Linked DNA regions of Homo sapiens: all the other regions are linked to region 3. The links are contacts of gene promoters, found by promoter capture Hi-C in blood cells and fetal thymus (Javierre and others, 2016). All regions are on one chromosome and are shown on one strand. The core of a region is centred on a gene start or on the middle of the fragment in contact, and the rest is flanking DNA. Distances in the headings are between cores, read along the strand shown.

What was found. Contacts are between HindIII fragments. The CHiCAGO score rates a contact against its expected background, and 5 or more counts as called.
Region 1: a contact is called between a fragment that was not itself captured here and the fragment with the promoter of HAPLN3 in region 3, in 1 of 17 cell types (naive CD8 T cells). The highest score is 6.4, in naive CD8 T cells.
Region 2: a contact is called between a fragment that was not itself captured here and the fragment with the promoter of HAPLN3 in region 3, in 9 of 17 cell types (naive CD8 T cells, total CD8 T cells, naive B cells and 6 more). The highest score is 10.7, in naive CD8 T cells.
Region 4: a fragment that was not itself captured here is called in contact with the fragment with the promoter of HAPLN3 in region 3 in 5 of 17 cell types (total CD8 T cells, naive CD8 T cells, naive CD4 T cells and 2 more); the score reaches 9.3 in total CD8 T cells.

Annotation. Positions count from the first base shown.
Region 1 is chr15:89,156,270-89,159,621 of GRCh38, reverse strand. All of the region lies in intron 5 of ABHD2 (abhydrolase domain containing 2, acylglycerol lipase), which reads right to left. Among named protein-coding and RNA genes, the nearest start is that of RLBP1, 64 kb to the left of the region's middle. The HindIII fragment of the contact is 5,010 bases long and covers 1-3,352 here.
Region 2 is chr15:88,598,176-88,601,539 of GRCh38, reverse strand. The region is part of intron 2 of LINC01586 (long intergenic non-protein coding RNA 1586); the gene reads left to right. Among named protein-coding and RNA genes, the nearest start is that of LINC01586, 5.3 kb to the left of the region's middle. The HindIII fragment of the contact is 579 bases long and covers 1,000-1,578 here.
Region 3 is chr15:88,894,011-88,897,014 of GRCh38, reverse strand. It overlaps HAPLN3 (hyaluronan and proteoglycan link protein 3), which reads left to right and starts at 1,471. Exons shown (of 5, transcript NM_178232.4): 1 at 1,471-1,556. RefSeq lists an enhancer at 1,634-2,245. The HindIII fragment of the contact is 19,838 bases long and covers 1-3,004 here.
Region 4 is chr15:88,614,321-88,617,573 of GRCh38, reverse strand. It overlaps a transcript of AEN not described here. Among named protein-coding and RNA genes, the nearest start is that of MIR3529, 4.0 kb to the right of the region's middle. The HindIII fragment of the contact is 3,159 bases long and covers 1-2,862 here.

The DNA of each region.
Region 1 (3,352 bases), core at 107-2,606, 260 kb before region 3:
CTGCATGGGTTGCCCTTCCATAGCGCACTCCCCTGTCTACAAACTCCAACTGTTCATGAGTGCCTCTGTTTAGGAGCTCATCTTTGAGAACCCAGCTCAAATGCCTTTCCTGGGAGAATTCTTCCTCCCACAACTTGACTCCTCGCCCATAGATCGAGGCTGGTTTCTCCATGCTGCTGCAGCACATTCACCAGGCCCGCTGTGTTAGTCCACTCATCACACTGTATTGTAATTCCTTTTTTTTTGAGATGGAGTCTCGCTCTGTTGCCCAGGCTGAAGTGCAGTGGTGTGATCTCGGCTCACTGCAACCTCCGCCTCCTGGGTTCAAGTGATTCTCCTGCCTCAGGCTCCCAAGTAGCTGGGATTACAGGTGCCTGCCACCATGCCTGGCTAATTTTTGTGTTTGTAGTAGACACAGGGTTTCACCATGTTGGCCAGGCTGCTCTCAAACTCCTGACCTCAGGTAATCTGTCCACCTCAGCCTCCCAAAGTGCTGGGATTACAGGCATGAGCCACCGTGCCCGGCGTTGTATTGTAATTCTTTAACGACACTCACATCTCCCTGGCAGAACACATCTTATTTATCTGGGTCACAAACAGCACGGTTAATCTCTCACCAACATGAATATACCTTCAAGTATTTGAATAAGAATAAACCTGGCTGGCACGGTGGCTCACATCTGTAATCCCAGCACTTTGGGAGGGCGAAGTGGGTGGATCACTTGAGCTCAGGAGTTCGAGACCAGCCTGGACAACATAGTGAGACCTTGTCTCTACAAAAAATTAAAAAATGAGGTGGGAAGCTGGCTTGAGTCTGGGAGGTTGAGGCTTCAATGAGCCATGATTGCACTACTTCACTCCCTCCTGGGTGACAGAGTGAGACTCTGCCTCAAAAAAACAAAACAAAACAAAACAAAAAGAATGAACCTAACATACAATAAATGTTTACTATATGTAATCAACTGCCTACCAAGTCCTCAGTAACCCACATTTAATTGTAGCTCCACCTTACTGCAGCTGAAGAATCTGGAACTGAGTTTAAGAAACTGCTCGAGCCACACAGCATCAGTGGCAGTGCTGGGGCATCGGATCCAGAGCCTGTCTCCTGACCCAGGTACTCTCTGGGAGCAAGGCCTGCACTTAACCTATTCTTCTCTGCTCTTCAGCTGCTGGTCTCCCCTGACCTGGTGTGGTAACGCCTTCCAATCTGGTCTCTTTGGCCTACAGCCCCAACAGTACAGCACTCTGGAGCTGGGAGGCCTAGACTATACAGACCCAGTTACTCTGCTATCTCTGAGATGATTCCGGCAGCCAGATCCAGGCTCCTCTCTTAGCTCTTCTACTTACTGGCTCTGTGCCCTTGCCCAAATCACTTAACCTCTCTATGCCTCAGTTTTTTCATCAGAATTTTACGGTCCCATGGGTTGCTGTGGAGATAAAAGAGATTGTGCCTACATGTGACATCAGTACTGTGTCTGGTGCACATTAAGTGTTCCCACTGGCACACAGTAAGTGTTCACACTGTACTGTTAGTGCTCCCAAATCTCCATCCTGGCCCTGCAGCCAAGCCATGCCTCCCCATCTTCTACTTGTATAGACAATCTATATATCCAAGCACAGGACATTACCATTATTCCCCATTGTTTTCTTTGTGTTTGATTTGGCCTATTTCTGACTTTTGGGTCCAATTCTGTCTCCCACATACTCACTATTCACCCTGTGCCTGTGCTATCTGTAAATCTGGACATTCACCTATTTATTTATTTTTTTTAATTTTTTGAGATGGAGTCTCACTCTGTCACCAAGGCTGGAGTGCAGTGGCGCGATCTCAGCTCACTGCAAGCTCCACCTCCCAGGTTCACGCCATTCTCCTGCCTCAGCCTCCCGAGTAGCTGGGACTACAGGTGCCCGCCACCACGCCCGGCTACTTTTTCGTATTTTTAGTAGAGATGGGGTTTCACCATGTTAGCCAGGATGGTCTCCATCTCCTGACCTCGTGATCTGCCTGCCTTGGCCTCCCAAAGTGCTGGGATTACAGGCTTGAGCTACTGCGCTCGGCCAAATTCACCTATATTTTCAAGCTACTGACCAAACTGCTGAACAGAACGGAGTCTGTAAAATGGGTATCTTCAGCTGTGGGTGTGAATACAGAAGAGGAAATGAACTCAGGGCACCCAACACCCTGCTTGGCACAAAGCAGGTATACCTGTTCATGCTTCCATACCTGTGACCTTCCCTTACCTGCCCTTATAGGAGACAGTGCCCTTGCATGTTACCAGTGGCAACGTAATTGGAATGACCTTGCTGGAGGTCAATCTGACAAGATGTACAAATATGCATAAAAAAATGTTGACTCTGCAATTTTACTGGGCATTTACTCCAAGGTCATTCAAGAGAAAATAATTCTATGTACAAGACACAGTATTTACAGCATTGTTATTTAAAATGCTGAAAAACTTTAAATAATTCATATGTCCTACAAAGATAAATGGTTAAATAAACTATAACAGAGTAGTAACAGCAATGTGGCTCTTAAACAGATTAAACATCTTTATGTTGGTGAATATAGAGTTATTTAAATAAATCACCATAGATATACATGCTATGACTGCAATAAATAAAAACTATGTAGACATTGATAAAGACAGAAGGGTAGTTGGAAGAAATAGAAAATTATAGTTATGGTGAGATGATAGATATAATTTTTAGTTATTTCCCATTAAAACATATTACAATTTATTTGCTTATAACATCCCAAATATTTGTGCATATACAGATGCATATTTTATGTGTTTATTGTTTATGTATACATATATAATCTAAAGAGAGAGCTAATAAGAATCAAGAACAAGCAGTCCAGAAGCCAGAACCTTAGCTAAAACAGGATTTTTTTTTTTTTTCAGACAGAGTCTTGCTCTGTTGCCCAGGCTGGAGTGTAGTGGCATGACCTCTGCCTCCCGGGTTCAAGTGATCCTCGTGCCTCAGCCTCCTGAATAGCTGGGATTACAGGCGTGTGCCAGCTAATTTTTGTATTTTTAGTAGAGACAGGGTTTTGCCATGATTGCCAGGCTTGTCTTGAACTTCTGACCTCAAGTGATCCACCTGCCTCAGCCTCCTAAAGTGCACTATTTATGGTGAGGGGTTGGTTTTGAAAATGTCCAGTAAGTCATGAACAGATGCTTTTGAAAAAGACAATAAAAAGGCGGGGCGCGGTGGCTCATGCCTGTAATCCCAGCACTTCGGGAGGCCGAGGTGGGCAGATCACGAGGTCAGGAGATCGAGACCATCCTGGCTAACATGGTGAAACCCTGTCTCTACTAAAAATACAAAAAAATTAGCCAGGCGTGGTGGC
Region 2 (3,364 bases), core at 40-2,539, 300 kb after region 3:
TTTTTCTTTGGGATATCTTAATAAAATAATCTTGGGCTGCTGCAGTGGCTCACGCCTGTAATCACAGCACTTTGGAAGGCCGAGACAGATGGATCACCTGAGGTCGGGAGTTCAAGACCAGCCTGACCAACATGGAGAAACCCCGTCTCTACTAAAAATACAAAATTAGCAGGGCGTGGTGGCACATGCCTGTAATCCCAGCTACTTGGGAGGCTGAGGCAGGAGAATCACTTGAACCCGAGAGGCAGAGGTTGCAGTGAGCCAAGATGGCACCATTGTACTCCAGCCTGGGCAACAAGAGGGAAACTCTGTCTCAAATAAATAAAATAATATTCAATACAGAAAATGTTAGATACATAAAGGTGTCCATTGTCACATTGTTTAATATTTTTTAAAATGGAAGCAACATAATATCCAACAATAGGAGACTGGCACATCATCTGTTGAATGGATAGAATATTCTACCAACTCTAAAATTAATGTTTTTGCTGAAACATGAGCCAAGAAAATACTCATAATGTTAAGGAAGGAAATTAGCAGAACATAGAACTGTCTTTACAGATATCATTAAAGTAAGGTCTTTAGAAAGCACATATATAGAAAAAATAGAACAGAAGTACATCAAAGTATGATAAAGTTTCTGTTAAAGAGATCACAGGTGGCTTTTAAATGTTTTCTTTTTATCATGTTTTCCAAATTTTCTGAAACATGATTAGGTAGTTTCTATAATTAAAATATAGTATGATACAAATATGGGAGTAGATGGTATTTATTAGGCATCTATTCCTTATCTGGCACTGTTCCAGATGGGCATAATCAGAGCAGGTGTGGAGCCTGGGTCTCAGACCTGTGCAGGTTGCTGCAGATCTTGCCTGGGGTATTAGGTGACCATGAGAGAGTTTGACCTTATCTGTAAAGAGCTGATAAGAGGCATTTGGTTTTTACTCAACTCAGATACATCATCAGCCCAGCTGCCCTTGTCCTCCTCCTCAATAAGCTTGCTTCTGTTCCTGGTATCTACTTTCTGGCCACTTCCTTCCACACCTCAAATAATAATCAAAACAATAATAATATTTCTTTTACATTTTTAATAGTACTTCACATTTTTCAATGCTCTCCAACACAATGTTTTACATAACTTTATAGCAACTACTACCAAAAAACCCCCCTTAAATTTAATTATCACAGCTCTGTGAGATAGGTGTTATTTTCTCCAGGTTTGTTTATTCTTTAGGTGCCGTGCCAGAAGCCACACAGCTGATAAGTGGTGGATCCATCTTGAATTTGACTTCTAGACACTCCCTTTTCATAGGACAGTGGGAGTTTAATCATGGACAACAATTCTTCTTCAGATTAGAACTTAATTGGAGGACAGATTGGCAGCTCAGCCGACCTTACTGTCATCGCCATTAGCCAAATAAAGATAAACCTTGACACTGCCAGTTTCCTCAATATTCTCATGCATTCATTTCTTGGAATTGACAAACCATGGACCAGAGGTCAAAAGATTCTGTGAGGGTCAGGCATCTTGGAGACATTACTGAGTTTCTAGATGGGTTGACATTTTAGAATGAAGCTTTTCTGGAAAGGAGACTGGATTACAGGTGCTAAAAGACTTGCTTGCTATGGATGGCTAAGGAGGCACCTGTCTTGTGCCAACAACCACACACCTCAAATGTGGAATTAGAGAACAGTGTAGTGAATGAAGTCATCACACTCACCTCCCACACACGTCGGGCATTCTAAGAAACCTTGGATCTCTCATCTTTCATCCCAATTGTGTAGCAAATATTTCTAAACCTTTGCCAGATTACCAAGAGAGTTTTAAAATTTAATTTCAAGGACCAACCAAGTACCTGATGGATTTTGTCATATCTGAAGACCAGAGAAGGCTGTTCTTGAAAAAGAAAACATAATTTTGGCAATAGTGAATATATAGTGACACCAGTTCAGAAAGAAGTTCTTTTAGAATTTTGACTCTGCTTACCTCTAGGAAATTAAAATCCAATAATAGAGAATTATAAATATCTTGGTTACTGTGATACTTTTAATGGCCAAAGTAACCCGGGCAATTCTATAAGTGACACAGAGCTATTCTTTTTTTTTTTTTTTTGAGACAGAGTCTCGCTCTGTCCTCCAGGCTGGAGTGCAGTGGCACGATCTCGGCTCACTGCCAGCTCCGCCTCCCGGGTTCATGCCATTCTCCTGCCTCAGCCTCCCGAATAGCTGGGACTACAGGCGCCCGCCACCATGCCCGGCTAATTTTTTTTTGTATTTTTAGTAGAGACGGGGTTTCACCATGTTAGCCAGGATGGTCTTGATCTCCTGCCCTTGTGATCCACCTGCCTCGGCCTCCCACAGTGCTGGTATTACAGGCGTGAGCCACCGCGCCCGGCCTTTAAAGTTAGAAAGGAGGTGATTCTATGTTTGTAGACCCAGGTTTATATACCACCATTCACAATAGCCAAAAGATGGAGGCCAGGTACGACAGCTCACACCTCTAATCTCAGCACTTTGGGAGGCCCAGGCAGGCAGATTGCTTGAGCCCAGGAGTTTGAGACCAGCCTGGGCAACATGGAGGAACCCTGCCTCTACCAAAAAAATATAAAAATTAGCTGGGTGTGGTGGGATGTGCCTGTAGTCCCAGCTACTTAGGAGGCTGAGGTGGGAGGATCACTTGAATCTAGGAGGCAGAGGTTGCAGTGAGCCAAGATGATGTCACTGTGCTCCAGCCTGGGCAACAGAGTGAGACCCTGACAAAATATAAATAAATAAAATATATAAATAAATAAATAAATAGAAAGAAGGGAAGAAAGAAAGGAAGGAAGAAAGAAAGAAAGGAAGGAAAGAAAGAGAGAAAGAAAAAAGAGGGCAGCAGCTCAAGTGTCTACTGATGGCTGAATGAATAAGCAAAATGTGGTATGCATATATAATGGAATATTACTCAGCCTTATAAAGGAAGGAAATTCTGACACAGGTAAAAATAAGAATGAACATTGTGGACATTATGCTAACTGAAATAAGCCAGTCACAAAAAGACAAATGCTGTATGATTCCAGTCTTATGAGATATCGACTATCTCATTTAATATTTCCTAATAAGAAACAATAGATGAATTGTTACTGGTTTTCACTAGCTAAAATTAAGATCAAGATGACATCTTCAAAATGCTGCTGTGAAATGTCAACACAGAACTCCGTACCTAATTGAACTACTATTCAGAGTGAATTTGAAATATAGACTATTTTAAATGACCTAAAACTATAGGAAGTTCAACACTCTTTTTCATTGTAAGACACAAAAGGATGGGCTTTGATAGCAATGAAATTGAACTCGAAAGGAAATAATGAGATAAAAGGAGCAA
Region 3 (3,004 bases), core at 222-2,721:
ATCACCCCTACACATTGACTTTTTTCTGCCCCACTGCAAGGCAGAGGGTGAGCGTTCAGATTCCACCTGCTGGCTACCCCTACCCCTGGCTGGCATGTTCAACTCGACTTAACTGTAGCAAAATGTGCTCTCCCTACTGTCCATCCTCTCCCCTGTCGGGAACCTGCAGAGGGACCTACCTTGGCTCCCCTTTGCCCATCAAGCCTGGCGTTCCTTTTAGGTGTAGTTTACCTGTTGATCACAGTTCTTTGTGCTCCAATGTGCCCCTGGCTGTGTGTAACACACACACATGCACACACACACACACACTCATGGGCCAACTTGAGCTGTGTTTAGGAAGAGGCTCTGAGCTCTGTGACCCTGTGACCCTTCGACCCTTCCCCCAGCCAAAGCTGAAGGACCTCCTTAGTCTTTTCTGCTGAGGAAACATCGGGCTGTCCAGGCCAGGGCCCCCATTGGTCTGGACAGGAAAGAAAACACCCTGTCCAAACAGAGGCATCCTGAGCGGCTGCCTGGATGGCTGTGCTGATTAGCAGGATTCCGAAGGGAGGCCCACCCCTGTTGGAGGACCACTCAGAAGCCTGATTGCCCCTGCAGGCTGCAGAGGTATCCCACCCTGTGTCTCCCCTCCCAGCCAGGGCCACTCATTCAAGCCCCATGTGCTGGGGATAGCACCTGCTATGTGCCTGACAGTGAGTTGGGAATCTGGCCAGTGTTTCATGATGGCCAAACTCAGGGGCATGAGGACATCAGCAACCCCTTGCTTTTTTTTTTTTTTTTTTTTTGAGACGGAGTTTTGCTCTTGTTGCCCAGGCTGGAGCACAATGGCATGATCTCAGCTCACTGCAACCTCCGCCTCCTGGGTTCAAGCAATTCTCCTGCCTCAGCCTCCCAAGTAGCTGGGATTACAGGCATGCTCCACCACGCCCAGCTAATTTTGTATTTTTAGTAGGGACAGGGTTTCACCATGTTGCCCAGGCTGGTCTTGAACTCCTGACCTCAGGTGATCCACCGGCCTCCACCTCCCAAAGTGCTGGGGTTACAAGCATGAGCCACTCACTGCACCTGGCCTCACCCCCTTGCTTTCTATTTGGAAAAGAAAGTAATACAGAAGTCTCACCCCTTCCACAATCAAAGGTGGGGAGCAGCCTTAGCCCCTAGCAGAATGCTGGACAGGGGCTTCCCCTGCTTACTCCCACTGTTTTTGGTATACCAGGCTTTCTAAGGGGATCCCCCCTCCCCAAACTCTCCTATTCCACCCCTACTCTCCTTTCCCAAGACGTGAGGGCCTCAACTCTTGCACACCCTCTTTGCGGTGGTTCCCAGCGAGTCTGGAGACCGCTCAAGCCTGCAGCAGCTCCTCCCTTCGAGCCCAGCCCTTGGGAGGGAAAGGTGCGCGTGTTCCTTTAAGGGGCTGGTCTGGCGGGAGCGCGGGGGTTTTTCTGCTGCCGCTTCCTTTCTGCCCTTTTAATTTCCCCGAAATCAGACTGCTGCCTTGGACCGGGACAGCTCGCGGCCCCCGAGAGCTCTAGCCGTCGAGGAGCTGCCTGGGGACGGTACGTGGCTTAGGGGTCGCTGGGCTTCTGGGGCTGTGTGCGGGCCGGGTTCCTCCCTTACCGCTTTGGGTGCCCTGCGGGTCCCCACACCTCCCGGGCAGGGTCCGGGGAAGGGGCAGGAGGCGTGGGCCGGGCACTGCGGAGGCCCGGGCTGAGATGGGCTGTGATCGCGGGCGAGGGGCGCCCGGGGCACAAGTGGGGAGGGAGCGGCGCGGGGATGCGGGCGCCGGACCCTCGTGCCCACCGTGAGGGAGCAGAGCCCGAGCGGACCCCGTGGCCTCCGAGACCACCGTCCGCCTCCAGCCCCCTTCCTGCCAGGGTCCGCTTGGCTCTCTCCCCTGTCGTCTGTCCAGGGTCGGCTGCCTCCAGTGCCGTCCGCGGCGCCCCAGGCCCTGCCCCTGGGTATCTGTTGGATGCTCCGGGGGCCCCGGGAGTCCTGGGAGGGGCTGAGGGCAACCTGCGAGGCGGCTGGCGGACCTGCGCCTCTGGACCGCAGCTGGCCGGCTCTGGGCGCCTGGGGCAAAGGCAACTGATGCCTATGGGTTCCAGACCTCGCTCACCGGGGTTCTTGCCCCAGGGACAGCGAGGCCAGAAGGGTAGGGAGGGTGGAGGGCAGAGCCCTGGGTGGGAGATGGCGACCCTCAGGGAGAAACGTAGGCTTGTGCGCAGCCAGTATGGAAACAGCACGGCACTTGGACCCAGTCCTGCCACCAGCTCGTTGGCAGCCACAGGCCACAGGCAGCCTGTAAACCTGTTGGGACCTTGGTGTCCAGCGCTGACCCGCGGGAGTGCCTGTGCTCCCTGGAGTAGGGGGCAGCGATTGAGAGGGGCCCTGGCTTCTCTCCCTCGACGCCGCCCGGGCCAGCGGATTGGGAAACACCTCCGGTTTTCATTCTCCTGGGGGCTGCAGGTTTCAAAGGCGGAGATCAAGCCTTGTGCAAACAGGGACAGGGATGTCAAATTTCTCGCTGGGAGCAGCGCTCGTGCAGACCTCGCGGGCGATGCTGCCTCCTGCTGGTACCTGGGGGACTTGTACTCACGGAAGGCCCAGTGCGGACATGCACCTGGCAGGGAGGTGGCACCTACCCTCCCTCCAAGCCCAGGCTTATTGTTCTTGGGTGGAGGGGTCCCTAGGCTGGGGCGCCTGGGAAAAGCAAAGGGCTGGTCATCAGGAAACCTGAACTTTCTCTAAGTTCGAGATATTTGACAAAGATAACGCCTTGGGTAGTTCACTGACCTCCACTCTCTTGGCCTCAGTTTCCTCAACTGTGAAGAGGAGGCAGTGGTGACCACTTTGTCTCGTAGGCAGTGAGAGAGGAGAAAGAGCCACTGAGATGGTGTAAGACTTCACTGTGTGAACTGCTCACCAGAGTAGTAACAGGTCATATTTTCCCAGTGCTTGCTCCTTATCAAGCATCAAGCAGTATTTTCAGTGCTCTGCAGCTATT
Region 4 (3,253 bases), core at 34-2,533, 280 kb after region 3:
TTCATGTACTTTAAAAATGAAGGCCGGGCGCTGTGGCTCACGCCTGTAATTCCAACACTTTGGGAGGCCAAGGCGGGTGAATCACCTGAGGTCTCAAGTTTGAGACCAGCCTGGCCAACATGGTGAAATCCTGTCTCTACTAAAACACAAAAATTACCTAGGTATGGTCGTGGGCACCTATAATCCCAGCTACTCAGGAGGCTGAGGCATGAGAATCTCCTGCACCCCGGAGATAGAGGTTGCAGCGAGCCAAGATTGCACCACTGCCCTCCAGCCTGGGCAACAGTGCAAGACTCTGTCTCAATAAATAAATAAAGAAGCTAGGCAAGGTGGCACATGCCTGTAGTCCCAGCTACTTTGGAGGCTGAGGTGGGAGGATCACTTGAGAAGGGCAGGAGTTTGAGACCACAGTGCACTATGATTGTGTTACCCTCCAGCCTGGGCAACATAGTGAGACCCCACCTCTACAAAAAATAAATAAATGAAAATGAATAATATTTGTATCAAATCATTATGATATTTAGACTCCATTGCGTTCATTTAATGACGTCTTTTTAAGATGTCCATATTAACAGATGCTCTGTGACTTAACAATGAGGCCATGTCCGGATAAACCCACTATAATTCACAAGTTGAAAATGCACTTAATACATCTAACCTACCAAACGTCTATAGCTTAGCCTGACATACCTTAGATGTACTTACAACATTTACATTGGCCTACAGTTGGGCAAAATCATCTAACACAAATGTTATAATAAAGTACTGAACATGTCACATAATTTATTCACGACTGTACTGAAAATAAAAAACAGAATGTATGGACACTTGAAGTAAGGTTTCTACTAAATGTGTATTGCTTTTGCACTATTGTAAAGTTGAAAAATGTTAAATTGAGCCATTGTAGGTCAGGGACCATCTATACTTACATTTATCATAAAAAAATTGCTAAGTAAAAAAACTTGATGTCCCAGGTATTCAGTAAGGGTGGTCTCACACTGTCATCTTGACTGTGGATGGTAATACCCATACCCCTTCTTTCTTAGGGAAACCACTAAACTCACCCTCCAACTTCTGCTAGCTGTGTGACTTTTGGCAAGGCTCTTGACCTTGCTGAACCAAGTCAGCCCTTCCCTTCTACCCAGAGGCTGCCCCTGGATTGAATAAAAATATTCCCTCCTAGGCCAGGTGCGGTGGCTCACGCCTGTAATCCCAACACTTTGGGAAGCAGAGGCTGGTGGATCACAAGTTCAGAAGTTGAAGACCACCCTGACCAACACGGTGAAACTCCATCTCTACTAAAAATACAAAAATTAGACGGGCATGGTGACACTTGCCTGTAATCCTAGCTACTCAGAAGGCTGAGGAAGGAGAATCATTTGAACCCGGGAGGCAGAGGTTGCAGTGAGCCGAGATGGCGCCACTGCACTTCAGCCTGGATGACAGAGCAAGGCTCCATCTTGAAGAAAAAAAAACAAAAAACGCCTCCTTCCACAAAGACGAGGGCTCCTTTATAACAGAGCTTGTTTAGGCTGGGGCCTGGTGGGGAAAAACCCATGATCCAAGCTCTGACTTCAAGGACCCCATCATTTCCCCCTCCGCATTTTCAATCTGAAAACACTTGAGACAGGACTTGACCTGTTTTGCATTTACAAATCATTATGCTACAGTCAGAGTGCCATTCTGCCTGCCCTGTGTACTCATTCTGAGGACTTTTTGGGGGTACTGTGGGGATCCCCATGGTGCTGGGCCAGGTGCAGACTTGAAAGAGAGTGTTGATCTGCTCAATTTTTAGAGCAATTGTTCTCCACGTGTCGTCCTAGCCCAGCAGCATGGGCATTTACCTGGGAGTTTGTTGGACCTACTGAATCAGAAAATCAGGCTGTGGGGCCCAGAAAGTCAGGGGATGAGGCCCAGAAAGTCAAGGGGTAGGATTAAGAAAATTAGGGGGTGGGGCCCAGCATTTTAACAAGCTGATGAAATAGCTAATCCTGAGGCATGCCGAAGTTTAGGATCCATTGTGTTGGAGAGTATGAAGCTGACGACATTCCCAGTGCTAAATGTGAATAAGGTACTTGTTTTATGCACGCAGCTCCCCGCCTCTTAGCTCTCTTGATCCAGCAGCAGCTGGACTTTGGACCTACCAGGACACAGCCTGGCACCAAGACAATTAAGGTACCTTTGTACCCTCCCCCAACTCCTGAGAATGTCCGGGATTCTCAGGCCCAGGCTAAGTGTCACACGGCTAATTTTTTAATGGAAGACTGGAGGGATTTGATCGAGGGGAGTTTTATTCTCTGCCGTTCCTTGCTCCATTCTAGACTAGAGTTCCCTCACATATAAAATTAATCCTTCATTCAGTGGTCCCCAGCCTTGACTCAACATGCTGAACTTGAAAAAACACAGACGAGGCCGGGCGCGGTGGCTCACGCCTGTAATCCCAGCACTTTGGGAGGCCGAGGTGGGCGGATCACGAGGTCAGCAGATCGAGACCATCTGGCTAGCACAGTGAAACCCTTTCTCTACTAAAAATACAAAAAAATTTGGCCGGGCGTGGTGGCGGGCGCCTGTAGTCCCAGCTGTTCGGGAGGCTGAGGCGGTAGAATGGCGTGAACCCGAGATCGCGCCACTGCACTCCAGCCTGGGCGACAGAGCGAGACTCCATCTCACAAAACAAAACAAAACAACAACAACAACAACAACAAAAAAGCACCACAGACGCTTGGGTCACACCCCACCCCAAGATTCTGATTTAACTGGTCTGGGGTGGGGCCTGAACAGGAAGGTTTTTAAATCTCCCCAGGTGTTAGTAGTTTGTCGCTGAGACTGACAATTGCCGCTAAAGTGGAGTTACCTAAAGCTTCCAGCAGAGGACGCTGCCTCTCTGCTCATCCAGGGAAACGTGAGCCGGGAAACCTGACAGCTGCAGTTGCGATGGGTGGGGCTGGAAATCAGGCTGTTTCGTAAACCCGGTTGATGCAGTTAAGGCGACGGGCCAGATGCCGTGACCCTTGTATCGCCGAGGTTTTTGTGTTGAGACTCCAATAAAGTTACCTTAAAAAGTAGTAAGTTAGGGCCAGGCGCTGTGACTTACGCTGTAATTTCAGCATTTGGGGAAGCCAAGGTGGTAGGATCACCTGAGCCCAGGAGTTTAAGACCAGCCTGAGCAACACAGGGAGACTCCGTCTCTACAAAAAATACTGTAATTAGCCAGGGTGTGGTGGTGGGTGTCTGTAGTCTCATCTGATCGGGA